3 separate regions of the Homo sapiens genome follow, and regions 1 and 2 are each linked to region 3. Evidence: promoter capture Hi-C in 16 types of primary human blood cells and fetal thymus (Javierre and others, 2016). All regions are on one chromosome and are shown on one strand. Each heading gives the region's core, a stretch centred on a gene start or on the middle of the fragment in contact. The rest is flanking DNA. Distances are from core to core; before and after follow the strand shown.

The links. Contacts are between HindIII fragments. The CHiCAGO score rates a contact against its expected background, and 5 or more counts as called.
Region 1: a fragment that was not itself captured here is called in contact with the fragment with the promoter of TOX in region 3 in 1 of 17 cell types (M2 macrophages); the score reaches 5.2 in M2 macrophages.
Region 2: a fragment that was not itself captured here is called in contact with the fragment with the promoter of TOX in region 3 in 1 of 17 cell types (M2 macrophages); the score reaches 6.6 in M2 macrophages.

What each region holds. Positions count from the first base shown.
Region 1 is chr8:59,934,103-59,938,416 of GRCh38, reverse strand. No RefSeq gene overlaps it. Among named protein-coding and RNA genes, the nearest start is that of CA8, 350 kb to the left of the region's middle. The HindIII fragment of the contact is 3,724 bases long and covers 727-4,314 here.
Region 2 is chr8:59,914,359-59,919,162 of GRCh38, reverse strand. No RefSeq gene overlaps it. Among named protein-coding and RNA genes, the nearest start is that of CA8, 360 kb to the left of the region's middle. The HindIII fragment of the contact is 3,620 bases long and covers 693-4,312 here.
Region 3 is chr8:59,117,229-59,121,983 of GRCh38, reverse strand. It overlaps TOX (thymocyte selection associated high mobility group box), which reads left to right and starts at 2,837. Exons shown (of 9, transcript NM_014729.3): 1 at 2,837-3,098. The coding sequence starts at 2,997. TOX-DT (TOX divergent transcript) reads right to left here and starts at 2,774. Exons shown (of 3, transcript NR_149031.1): 1 at 2,699-2,774; 2 at 1,913-2,027; 3 at 1-1,648. RefSeq lists a silencer at 2,093-2,312. The HindIII fragment of the contact is 5,602 bases long and covers 1-2,931 here.

The DNA of each region.
Region 1 (4,314 bases), core at 1,339-3,838, 820 kb before region 3:
GTTTTAGTCCGTTTTCATGCTGCTGATAAACAGCATTACCTGAGACTGCGCAATTTACAAAAGAGAGAGGTTTCATTCGACTTACGGTTCCACATGGCTGGGGAGGCCTTGTAATCATGGCAGGAGGCAAGGAGGAGCAAGTTATATCTTACGTGGATGGTGGCAGGCAAAAAGAGCTTGTGCAGGAAAACTCCCCCTTATAATAACCATGGGATCTCATGAGACTTACTATCATGAAAACAGCACGAGAAAGACCTGCCCCCATGATTCAATTACCTCCCACTGGGTCCTTCTCACAACACGTGGGAATTCAACATGAGATTTTGGTGGGGACACAGCCAAACCATTTCACTTTCTTTGTAGGACATTAATAATCACTGAGGCGATCTGTGTCTCTTTTACATAAAGGAGCCCCAAATAGAAAGGAATATTCCTATACTATCCAAAACTTAACAAAAACAGAGCTTTATTCCAGAGTCGGTACACTTTCTAATGAGTTCAAATTCATCTTACTTGCTTATTTATGTTAAGATCTATGGCTTTCTAAATTGTATTTATTTTATACTCGTACAGTATCATATCCCAGTACCTAAACGGTTATATACAATGACCAATAAAATGATAAGGTACAGTTTCAAAAAAGAAAGATATGTATGTGTATGCCCTTTTCCGTCCTTACCAGAAGGAACAGCTTTAGACTTGAACATGAGAATGTATTTTAAAGCTTATAAACTAGGAAGACACAGTATTCTAAGGAACAATAATTAAAGCTAAGGAGATTATAATGCAGCCACGAATGGCTATATCACTTGTTTGTGCACTGAAATTGAAATAATGCTGTTCAAAATTCTATTGAAAATATGATTGCTAATATCAGAGATAGTATAAATGAAGCTAAAATTTAATGAGGAAAGAAAATAGAATGACTCTCCAAGCCTATGTAATTTGTTCAACTCAGAGCTAAATATATTATCTTAAAATGTATAGAAACTGATATGCTCAACATACCACAGCAGTAAAATGTTAGTGGGTTACCAGAAAATATTCATTACTTCTCCTGAAAAATGATGATCCTTTGTAATAAAAAGTAAGAAGGTGCATGGTGTTTCTTCACAAAGGGTTAGTGTTTACTGTGAGGGTGACTTTCATGTTGAAATGTTACAAGTTACACAAATTTCTCATGGATTACAAGGTATTCTGTGTGTTTGCAGAATGTAATGAACAGCTAACTGAAGGTCAGCATTTCACCAATGTTTAAATCCATTTACTATTCTACTGGAAAATGTCCTGAAAATTGTAATATATCCCAGTTTATTTGTTTAAATGCAATACCTGTGAATTCAGAAATTACACTATTTAGAAATATATGGCAGAGAGGAAAGGAATGAGATTCCCATTAATGGAGAAGATGCTTTGTCTTGTTACGAAGTTTTTGTTTTTTCTGTTTATAACACAAAGTCTGTGTCAATGGATCATTGCCTATCTTATGGGACCAAAGGAATATACCCTTAACCAAGAAATCTCCTGTTTACTTGCCTGAGATTTTGAGAAATAGTATCAGCAGTTGAAAGTCTTTTTCTAAAGGCTTATATTTTAACTGGTTGAAGCATCGCCCAGTTGGGAGATTTCGAAGGAATGGATCCCAGACTTCCACCGTTCTTTAACTTCTTCCTTCTAGCACCTTCCGTAGGACATAGGGGAGGAATTTCTAGTCTAGTAAAAGAACCCCTAATCTTCCCTGTTTCTTCTTTATCTCACAAAATGCCTGTCTGCTGCAATCTTGTATGTATGCATAGGTGTATGTGTGTCTGTGTGTGAATATATGTATGTCTGTATATATGTATTCGCTATTTATTCATTAATACAGTTACACATTCACAGAATATCTACTAAATATTTACTACATGCCTGTTGTGCTATTGCAGAAAAGTAAAGATGAGGAAGACTTGAAATGGTACCAAGTTTGAATCAGACAAACCCAAATTAAATATTTTACTCTGCTGCATATTGTCTGTGTAATGTCAGAAACACGGCCTAAGCTCTTCTTTATAAAATGAGGGTAGTAATATCTAGCTCCTAGAGTTGTTGTTGGAAATATATAATTGCCTTGTGAACAAAGCACATAGCACTTCACCTTATAGCAAGCACTCAAATAAATAAATAAATGCCAGATACATAATACTGATTAAGTTTTAGTAAAAATCATTCCTTCCTTCTCTTTTATCATAAGGTTTTCTCTCTCTCTACTAGGTTATTCCTATTAACAAACAAACATTTTGATATATCATTTGTGTAAAAAATATTGTCCTTGCCCCACTTTTGTACCCACTTAGAGCCTCACTTCTTAGATCATATTTACAGCAAGACCCTATAAGTAATCTGTACCCATTCTCTTTAATTCCTCCCATTCTGCTTTGAAATCAATCAAATCAGGCCTTCTACTGCCCAATTCCACAAAAACTGCTTTTAGGAAGACCACCAGTGGCTTCCATTTTGCCAAATCTAAAGGTCAGCAGTCAGTCCTTGTCTTAATCTGTTGTCAGCGTCTTCTGACAAGTTAATGTCTCCTTCCTTTTTGAAACACTTTCTTTTTTTAAAAAAATTATTTTTATATATTTGAGGGAGTACAAATGCAGGCTTCTTTCTTTCTTTTTTTTTGAGAAGGGGTCTGGCTGTATCACCCAGGCTGGAGTACAGCGGTGTGATCTTGGCTCACTGCAAACTCCCCCTCCCGGGTTCATGCTATTCTCCTGCCTCAGCCTCCCGAGTAGCTGGGACTACAGGAGCCACCACGCTTGGCTAATTTTTTGTATTTTTAGTAGAGACGGGGTTTCACCATGTTAGCCAGGATGGTCTCGATCTCCTGACCTCGTGATCCGCCCGCCTTGGCCTCCCAAAGTGCTGGGATTACAGGTGTGAGCCACCGTGCCTGGCCGAGTGCAGGCTTCTTTCATGCATATATGGTGTACTGGTGAGGTCTGGGCTTTTAATGTACCCATTTCGCGAATAAGAAATATTGTATCCAACAGGTAATTTTTCAACCATCAACCCCATCCAACCACCTCCACTTTTGCAGTCTCCAATGTCTATTATTCCACTCTGTATGTCCATGTGTACTCATGGTTGAGCTCCTACTTATATGTGAGAACATGCAATATTTGGCTTTATGTGAGATATTTTCTATACTAGGCTTCCCAGAAAAAATATTCTCTTGGTCTCCTTCCCACCTCACCAGGAGCTCCTTCTCAGTCTTCTTTGTGGATTCCTCATCATCTTCCTGACCTCTTAGACTTAAAGCATCTTAAAGCATTCCATGCTCAGTGCTTAGAATGTTTCTCACTCCTGACATTTACTCCCTTCCTGATCTCTTCTAGTTTCATAATTTTATATGCCAATGACTTACAAATGTATATCTCCAACCTAGATCTCTCCCTTGAATTCCAGACTCACATAGTCAACTGCTTAGTTGATATTTTTCACTGGATGTCCAACTGACACCTTGGAAATAATGATATTGGTCTTTCTTCAAAGCGCACTTTTCCAGCAGTCTTTCTTATCTTAGTAAATGGCAACTCTATCCATCGTTCACGCCAATGACAAACCTGTCATTTCTGACTCTGCTTTTCTCCTCATATTGTATGAGGAGAATACAATACCTCATTTATCAAACCTGTCGCCATTACCTTCAAAATGGATCCCAGACTGGCACATCTTACCACTCTGGCAAAACACCAGCATCTCTTGAATTAATCAATTGCTACCTAACTAATTTTCTTGTTCTTGCCTCTCCACAATCTGGCAGCTAGAATTATTCTTTTCCATTTTAAATTGGCTTATCATATCTCTTTGTTCAAAATTCCCTAATTGTCTCACTTTTGGTAAAGACCATTGTACTGACAGGGGCCCACAAGCCTTCCCTATGATCTCCTCCGCATCCACCCACTCCTCTCTGACATCGTCTCCAACTATGCTCCTGCCACACTGGCCTTCACAGGCAGACATGCTCCAGGCTCAGCAATTCTACCTGTGTGTGTTTCCCTCTTCCCCAGATATCCACAGGGCTCGTTCCCTCATCCTCTTCAGTCTTTGCTCAAATGTTCCCTTCTAATGAGGAGTTCATTGAGATGCTTTATTTAAAATTGCATCTCTACCCCTCCCTTCTTTCTCTCCACAGCAGTTATCACCATCCCATGTATTGTTTACTTCACTTACATGTTTTATTTATCAGCTGTTTTCCATGCTAGAATTTAAACTTTATGTGAGTTCTTTTTTATTGGTTTTTAATCTGTTTTGTTTGCTAATGTTTTCAGAGTT
Region 2 (4,804 bases), core at 1,253-3,752, 800 kb before region 3:
ATTCAGGAACTATGAGATTGTTTCATTTCCTGTTGTAAAAAACAGCAGACATTTTCTCTGCCTTGCATGTAACTATATCGGTGGGAGGGCATTTTCTAAAGAAATCATATTGAACTCTTTTCTTAAAAAAAAGAGATTTCACTGAAGTTAAAACAAGAATAATTGGTAGGCTTCCTTTTTGCCTGTCTTGAAGCAAAATAAAATACTCTATCCTGTTTTAAAGATCTATAAACAGCTCAGCTAATAGAAAGGGGATGGGCAAAAAAAATAATAAAAAGCATTAACTTCTGAATTTTAGCAGAGGCCTATATATTGGAATAAAGAAAATGATTCATAAAAGTTCTTTGATAGTTTTTTTCCACAACAACAAAATATAGCCATGCTTGTCGGCCCATCTGTATTTTCCCTTCCTCTAATAAACTGGCTAGGCCAGAGCTGCAAAGGAACATTATAATATTGACAATGTTGCTGGAAAGCCATGTGCTTTAGAATGAATTAACTTTTGCTGCACTGTTGAACATATGAAAAAAAATGGCTCAGCAGAAAAAAAAATCACTTTAACCCATTTTTTGCCACTGGAGCTCAATGCAACAATCAAAATGAATAGGATCTGATAAAGAAGCTAGTATGTTTGTCCCCAGTAAAGAAGCCCATTTTCACACATCTTCTGGCTGTAATATATCTCAGAAGCTTCAAGAAATATCTGGCAGGTCTTAGATTGATGTGAACGAAATTGCAGGTAAAACTGTTGCCAAATAAGCAAGAAATGAGGGCACTGCAGAGGTTAATGTATTGGTAATAGTGTGAAAACTAAAACTGAAGTAACTTTATGTCCTTATTTATGGTATGTAATACTCATCTGCAGCAACCATAACAGTACATGCTTCCACTAGATTCTCAGGTCACTAGCTGAGGAGAGATTGCATTCTTATAGTAATTTTCTATCCCACACCTCCCAGAATATCTGTTAAAAAGAACATGCTAGAATTGGCTTGTGCCCTATCTTTTCTGTTTTATCCTCACACCTATTACAGTTTCATAATATTGTCCCCTAACTCCTGTCTTCTTTCAATTCCCAACAAGAATATATAGTTCCCTTAAGAAAGTTAGCACGTAATATTTGATTAATAGAGTATACATATTTATGCACACATCTGATAGTAGTATAGTAATTAACAATGTATAACACAATAAAAAATACATAAAAATTAAAACATTGTAATAACTTCAGATTATTGTGTGAGTTATTTTGTATGCATTATCTCTTGTGCTATACAGATTAACCAGGAAGTTTCTAGTTCTACAAGTGGAACTAGGAGCAAGTTCCTTTCTCTATATGAGTGAGCCATCCATCAAGATTGCAAACACACAGAGTGTGAGTAGAATAAAATCTAAGCCTAATGTCAGCTCCGTAGACCAGAGGAGAGGTTAGGGAGATCCCCAGCACAACAGGAGAGTGGAAAGTTGCAGTTGCTCATCATTCCAGGTTCATGCCCCTGGAGATACTGCAGTTGTGGCAGCCAGTAGGCTCTCAAAGAAGACAGGTCCTTCAGCATTCTTTTGGAGGAGGGGAGATAGTGTTTCTGCCCCTGGGTCTCAGCAGTTACTAGAACAGTAGCGTGGACCAGGGGCATACAAGGATATCTATGCTGTCCTAGAGAGATTGTCAATGTACCCTTCCTATGAGGCCAACTAGTGTAGAGAATTTTGATGGAGGTGATCAGGTCTTTAGCCACAGGATTCCTCCCACCTCTCACATCTTTGTTACCAATGAGTCACCAACCTTTTTGAAATGTGTAAATTAAAGCAGATTGCACTCTTACATTTCAATCGTGGAATTTATATTCAAATCTAACTGCTGCATTATAATCGACTTACAGACTTCAGCTAATTTAGGGAATGACTAGACAATATAAAGAAGAAAGGCTCATTATGATGGGCCCCAGCCCTAAAAGCAATTGTCTCAGAGACCCCCTTCAAAAATACAATCCTAAGATTGCAGATTGTCTGCATTGCCCCAAGAATACCCTGACCTGGTGAAAAAGATCATAAAACTCACATTGCACAGCCTCACCCACAAGAGCTGGGTCATCATCCCTGAAATTCCTCCTCTTTATAGATTGTCCTCTAACTCCATCTTCTTTCAATTCCCATATGGACTCTTCCTTTGGTTCTGCAAGAATATTCCCATGGAGATTTAAGAATCCATATTTCCCTGCAACTATACCTGTAGCACCCTCTGTTCACCAGTCACTAATGAATGCTGCAACTTCAGCTCTCAGGGACCTGAGCAGTGACTGCATAATGTGTTGCGAATGTCTGTGCTGGGAACGTGGTCCATTACTAGCCCTCCTTCCACAGCCCAGCCCTGCAGGCTTCCTTCTCCATACCCCTAACCTGCCCCCTTCATCCTAACATTACCCTTCGTCTCCCTATTCCTGTCCCTAAACCCTCCCCAATGACTGCCCCTACTCAGTACCGTCAGACAACTCCCTCCCTCCAGATTCTCCAACTAAAATGAACACAAATTGTTTGAAATGGGAGGAAACTAAAAAATTAGTGTTTTAGAGAATAAAAAAATGGAATTTGACCTGTCTGAAAGGATCTCAGACTAAACTGTTGGGGATCTGAGACTAATTTCTGGCAGGGAAAATCTGTATTGAAAAAACCTTTGTGGAAACTGGAAGGAATCAAAGACTCCAGTTGCTTTAAGAAGGTAAGGAAATAAGTGTCTTGTGCTGTGTCACTGTAGTAGGATGAGTTGGTCACGTGGAAGTGCTTTGGAGTCAGACAGTCCCAGGCTCAAATCCACATCCCTCATTGCTATTTACCAGTGTATGGGCATTTGCAAATTATTCAAGCTCTTCAAATTTAAGTTGTTGGTTTTTTTTATTTTTTAACTTGCAAAGTAAGATTAGGGTTAGTTTCTTCTTTAGAGATGTTTAAAGATTAATGAGAAGATATATGTAAACTTTGTAAGACAGTGCTTGGCTCATGGCAAGTTACCCAGAAATGTTATTGGCCTTACTTCCTTATTCTGATCACTATCCCACTCAGATTCATTAGTTTTCATTTTGAAAGCCACTAGGTTTATACTTTATCTGAGCCAATGCTGTTTATCCCAGCATAGCCAGAGCTCCAGAGTGCCCATTAATGAGAGTTTGATGAATCTTCCTTTGCAACTTCCATTTCACGAGATGGAAAAGCAACATCAGAAGGAAGCCATTTTTACATGATTTTAGGTTTGGTGAAATATTGCCTATTGCCCCACAGAGCACTGATGAGCTTGAAATAATTAATACAGGAAACCAATGGAAAGAAAATGTGTCTTCAAGTCCCGTGCATTTTTCTGATGTCAACTGGTACTGTACTATGTTTGTGAAAAATGGCTTACCCTCAAAGAAGTAGAAATGCTTTCCACAATTATACCAAGTGCTGCCAAAGCCTCAGAATGAGGGCATCATTTAAGGCCTGTCAAACAAAGCCAGTCAGTAGCTAAAGCGATTAAGGACAAATTTTTATCAGAAATATTCATTGCAATAGGGAAAAGAGTTCAGCACAAACTGAACTCAACTCTGATTTATACACAGGTGACTGGATGTTTGTCAGGGAGAAGAAGGCAGTTGAGAGGAGGGTGAGCTGGGGATCCATGGAGTCAGGAAAGTGAAAAGTTAAAAAAGCAGGAATGGAGGCTTGTTCCGTGTGAAACCCATCTGGGTTTATTAACTGGCACTTAGTGAAGTTTGGCTCCTGCTCTCCCAAGAGATGAGAAAACAGAGGCCCTATCTTCAGGTGTGGGCTGGCACAAACAGTAAACTGTAAATTCTTTTTTTTTTTTTTTTTTCAAGACGGAGTCTCGCTCTGTTGCCCAGGCTGGAGTGCAGTGGTGCAATCTTGGCTCACTGCAACCTCCACCTGCCAGGTTCAAGCAATTCTCCTGCCTCAGCCTCCCAAGTAGCTAGGACTACAGGCATGCACCACCATACCCAGCTAATTTTCTGTATGTTTAGTAGAGATGGGGTTTCATCTTGCTGGCCAGGCTGGTCTCAAACTTCTGACCTCATGATCCGCCTGCCTCGGTCTCCCAAAGTGCTGAGATTACAGGCATGAGCCACCATGCCCGGCCGTAAGGCCGTAAACTGTAAATTCTTTTTGCAGCCTTGAGTTTTCTTAGGTAGACATTTAAGTGAACCAGGGTCCTTCCAGAGATGTGGCCCTGAGCTATTAGAACCTAAGTGAGTTTTTTCTTTTCTTTTCTTTTTTCCTTTTTCTCTTTTTTTTTTTCTTTTTTTACGTGTTTCTAGGCCAAGCTTGAGGCCTAGTCAAGAAGAGGGCTCAGAGGAGCTTGGATACACTTTGCTCAAGAAACAAGAGTATCCTTGTCAGATCTCAACTCTGAAGATTACTGACTATGTTCTTTTGCAGACTCCACATTGTATTGCATGGGAAAAGAAGCCTGAAAATGTAAAGGCTTTATTATTATTGGGAGAAAGATCAAAGGCAGTTGGTTTCTTCAAAGTTTCTGAGCTTTATTTGAGATAATGGACAATTCCTCAACTTGAACCCTCTTCATTAGTCTCTCAAGAACTGAAAGAAATTTTCCTTGACAATTTATACTTGTAATGGAGTATTAAATAGAATTCAAAGAGGACATTACAGATGATAAAACTGAGACGGGGTGGAGGAGACATGACCTATCAAAGGTGGCCCAGTTAGTGAATAGGAATTCACCACCTGATGCCATCTGATTGCATGCGTTTCCTGCCCTGTGACCTACAGTTCCATGACATGGAATAGAAGGTTT
Region 3 (4,755 bases), core at 1,588-4,087:
TTTTAAACCTATAAATAATACAAAGCATTAGTGTTTTTCACCACTCTCTCTGTTGATTAATGTACAAATGAATGAGTGAATGGACAAATAACTATTTTATTTATCCATGATGTGGAGTTGAATGTCCAGGAAACTGAAAAGTATTACAATGATGCTCTATTTTATTTTCTAAATTAAGAAAGATTTGCTCAGAGGTTTAGATATTCAACTTTCCCCAACTTTTAGTACAAATACATCCATTTAGTTTTTGATGGGCCTTGGATACAGCATTATAAAGTGAGCATTTTTTCAGATTACACTGAGATGGCCTCTCTTTGTATAAGTGGCTAGAAGTAAGAACTTTTTCCCCCAGTAGCTCATATTCCCACCTATCACACCATGCCATGTACAGTATACCACTTTAACTCCATACACTCCGATGGAAGAAACCAGACTCTTGATTATGTAGAAGAATGCACAGGTCTCATGCATTTGGATTTTCCCTTAAAGCAGAGAAAACTGGTAGGTCTGTAGAGGAAAGCAGGAGATATCATTATCTCCCAGGAGTCAAGATGCAGATAATGGTATTGTTCCAGTCTTGAACCATTTCATTTCATCTTCCTGATGTTCACGAGGCCATCAAACAGACATCAATGATGAATTCCAAGAAAGTTTTATTTTTAAAAATCAAGTTTTGATATAATAAATGTTGGATTGAGGATAGAAATTTAAGCTGAGAAATGTTTAATTTGGACCTAAAAAAGTTTATTATTACTATTATTATTGTGGAAGGAAATACATACAGGCACATTTTAGTATCTACAACAGTATTTGGGAAGCTGTTATGAAACACAAAACTTCATTTAAATTTTATTATAAAGACCTTTATTAGGAGAAAGGACATATTTTCTATTTCTTACTTTTATTTTGTGCCTTGAAGGACTTGTGAATGTATAGAATAATTATTTTTTCTTACTGCTTCCTCTTTGCAACCCAACCTCCACCAAGTCAATCGTGAAGGTAGGAAGAAAGCTGTATTTCTGTTACTTTTAAAAATGATAACGAGAAGAAATTAAAACAATGGCTTAAGAGAAAGAGGATGTAAGGAGTACAAAGCAAAACTTAACAAAGAGTTAGTAAAGGAACTTGCATTGACAATTCACTCAGCCATGTTAATTTTATCATTAATACTGTCTTCATCATTTTTTTTTCCAGGTCTCTCTGCTCGTATTTGCTTGGTGCTCCGAAATGCACGGGAACAGACAGCTATGGGAAAGCTGCACAGAGCAGTTGGCAATCAACATGTCCTAGAAGGGTGTGTGGAGTAGCAAAACAAGTGGAACGGATGAAGAACTTCCAAGCTCCTTCGCAGAGTTTTGGGCCCTAGTGTGCAGGGCTGCTCCCTCATGAGATGGAGGACAATGTCGCCCACACCTACTTGGACCTCTCACCAAGGACACTGCCCTCAGAGATAAATCTGTTGGACGGCAGCCAAGAGACCCCAAATTGTCTCAACCTCCAGGACACGGCAAGTTGCAAGTTTCCGAGTTGGGGAGGCAAAGCGGGAAAACATGTTTGGCGATTTCCTCCTGCCACTCACCGACCGGAGAAATGGGGAGGCGGACTCCAGGTCTTTCGTGGACTGCCAAGAGCCCTATAGGGCGTCCAGCTATAAAAAGAGAAGAATCCCATGAAGGACAACAAGCAAACTCATATGTTATCCCTTTAGCCGGATTGTGTGCTGATGATTGTTTCCCTATTTACACTTCGAATCACCCCTGTGGTCTTTTGTGAGTCCCCAAGGCAGCCTCAGCCTTCGCAAACCGTCCAGTGGGGCACGAATCTCGGAGGGGTGCGGGCTGCAGGCGGCAGAGGGAAGCCAAAGAGGGGCGGCTTTTCCAGGCCGTCCACCCCCAGGCGAGCTGGTCCTCACCCTTCGATCGGCTCGAGTCCCTCGGACAGTTGCCCACTCACAGCGTGCAAAGGGGTCGCACTCCCTGTGGGTTCTCCGCCCTCAGAAGCGGCGCTGCGCAGGAAAGTCACCTCCACTACGGGCCGGGAGTAGGGAGGGGAGCACAGTGACAGGGTTGGGGAACAGCCGAGGAGGAGTGGGGGTCGCGGAGATAGGGGTGGGGACGGCCGCGGAGAGGGCGGTGGGAGTGGGGTGGGGCCGGGGAGGGCCGGGGGCGGGGCTGCGGGGCGGGGTGCGCCACAGCGCCCCCTAGCTGCGCGCTCCCCACGGTGCCCTGAGGCCGCTGGTGGCTCTGGCTCGGCAGCCCCTTTGTGTGCGACGCGCTGGTCCCGAGGAGCGCGGCACGGGCACAGCGGAGGCCTCCCAGGGTCCCACCGCTTCTGTCCCAGCCAGGCCGTGCTCTCCTCCTTCTCCTTCTCCGCTCCTCCTTTCTCCGGTCCCCGGCCTCTGGTTCCGAACAGCAGCCATTGGGCCTTGACGAGCCCGCGTCCGGCCGCGCTCCCTACCCCGCCCGGCCCGGGACGCTCGCCCCCCTCCCGCCCTGTCCCTTCTGGATCCCCGCCCCACCCCCCCACCCCCCACATCCCGGGCCTCCAAGGTGGAGAAAATAAACTACAAGCAGAACAACTCAGAATCTCCAATAAAACGCCCAGTACCTAGAGCCCGAGCGCGTGTGCCGGGCTGCGAGGGGCGCGGGAGGCGGGGATGGGGGGGCGGGCGGGGGGGACAATGAGCGCATGAAGTTACCTGCCCGGCGGCGGCGGCAGCGGCGGCGGCGGGACCAAGAGGCGGCGGTGGAGCAGGCTGCGCGCTCGGCGCCGACGGGTGCGCGCCGCGGCTTGGGGGAGAGTTGAGCGCTTTTCCCCCCTCTTTTTTTTTTTTTTCCTCTTCTTCTTAAACAAACCACAAACGGATGTGAGGGAAGGAAGGTGTTTCTTTTACTCCTGAGCCCAGACACCTCACTCTGTTCCGTCTAAGCTTGTTTTGCTGAACACTTTTTTTTAAAAAAGGAAAAAGAAAAGGAGTTGCTTGATGTGAGAGTGAAATGGACGTAAGATTTTATCCACCTCCAGCCCAGCCCGCCGCTGCGCCCGACGCTCCCTGTCTGGGACCTTCTCCCTGCCTGGACCCCTACTATTGCAACAAGGTGAACGCTCTGCTTTTGTTTCCACCGTGTTCTTGCTGCTTGATCCTGGGAGGGGAGCGGCGGTGGCCGGGCCGCGGCGGGGCCGGCTTGGCGGAGGCCGGTCCCGGGCGCGCTCGGCTCGCAGCCCGCTGCAGCCTGCGTGCGCTTGGGTAGTAAATATTGTGGAGTAGCTCCGGGGGCTTGCCAAACACCGCGATTGTGCGGAAAGTGACACGATTTGCTCGGATTCTTTCCTTCCTGCTGTTCGCGGCTAAGGATCCCTGCCTAGGTTTGCCGGGGGGCGTTTAAAAAAATAATAAGAGAAAACCGTGGAATACTTTGGGGGTGTGTCTGGGGTCCAGGAACGGAGGCAGAGTAAGAGAATTCAGTTTATTTCCCAGTTCCCCCTTCTCTCTCCCTCCCTCCCCGGGCAGTGGGGGCTCGTGGCACCACTTCCCTTCTCCGGATTAGTTGCCAGGGGAGCAGCCGGGAGTCGGGGTGCAGGGACCTGGGAGGCGCCCCTGCCCCCCACAGGGAAAACTGCCCCACAACTCTTTTGTTTTCTCAAACCGGTTCCGGCAGCCGAGCCCGGGTTCGGACACAGGTCCGCGGGCCAGAGCACAGCGGGGTAGCTGGGTCAAGGTTTGGGGAACAGTTCCTGTTTAAGGGGTGCGCGCGGAAATTGCAAGTTTGTTGGGAGCCGGGCGAGCACGTCGCGTTCAAGTCCAAAGCTCCCGCACTCGCGGAGCAGGGTCCGCGGCTGAGCTGTACCCACGGCCCGCTGACCTCGGGTGCCAGGGCCGCGGGGGCCCGGGGAGAGGCGGATCATGCCGGTGACCCGGAGGTGGGGCGCTGGCCTGGGCTGCTGCGGAGTTCGGCTGGGTCCACCTATAGGACAGTCAGGGGGTACGAGGGAGGGGGTTACTCTCCCGGCTTCTCGAACTCTCTCATCCCAGAGAGGGAGGACACGCAGGGACCGGTCCCCCAGAGTGGTCGCAGGGGCACGACTGCCCACGCCTAGGGCTAGTTGGACGTGTCTAAGCAGTCCCGTTGGATGAACGTTGGCAGAGAGAATTGAGTTCTCTAAAACGCTGGGCGGGCCTTTTAGACGCCCAACTCTCGCTTGGTGATAAATCTGCCTGATACTCACAGCCCCTGCAGGCACATCCATGGCGACCCTCGGTGCATTCCACGGGAAAAATCGTTGGGACTCCCAACATTTGCCTGGTGGCGAGTCATCACCAAACGGCTTTTTTACCTGATACAGAGATATTTAGTGCGCTGCCTTCTCAGCCCTGGACTCCGCACCACGCGACCGAGTCGCAGCTCCGAGTCTTGGACAGTGTTGACACACAGGCAGGCTCTCACACACACACTTCCCCGTGGAGAAGCTCCTCGATGCTGTGTCCAGTGTGAGACCCACTCAAAGGACTGTGCTGTGTGCCGATGGTGTTTAGGCAAGTTAGAAAAGAGGGACATCCAGTCTTGAGCAAGGCAGAAGGGCTTCCATTGTACAGGGAGCCCTTCAGCTACGGGCAAGTTGAAAGGTACGGGGAACTTTGGCAAGCGCATAGGAGTTTGTGTGATGAAGTTTCATTATTTGCTGGTGACATAGTTCTTTTAGTCTAAAATCTGTTTTGTCTGTACACTCAAGTATTGTGTTACGTTTTATTTTGCT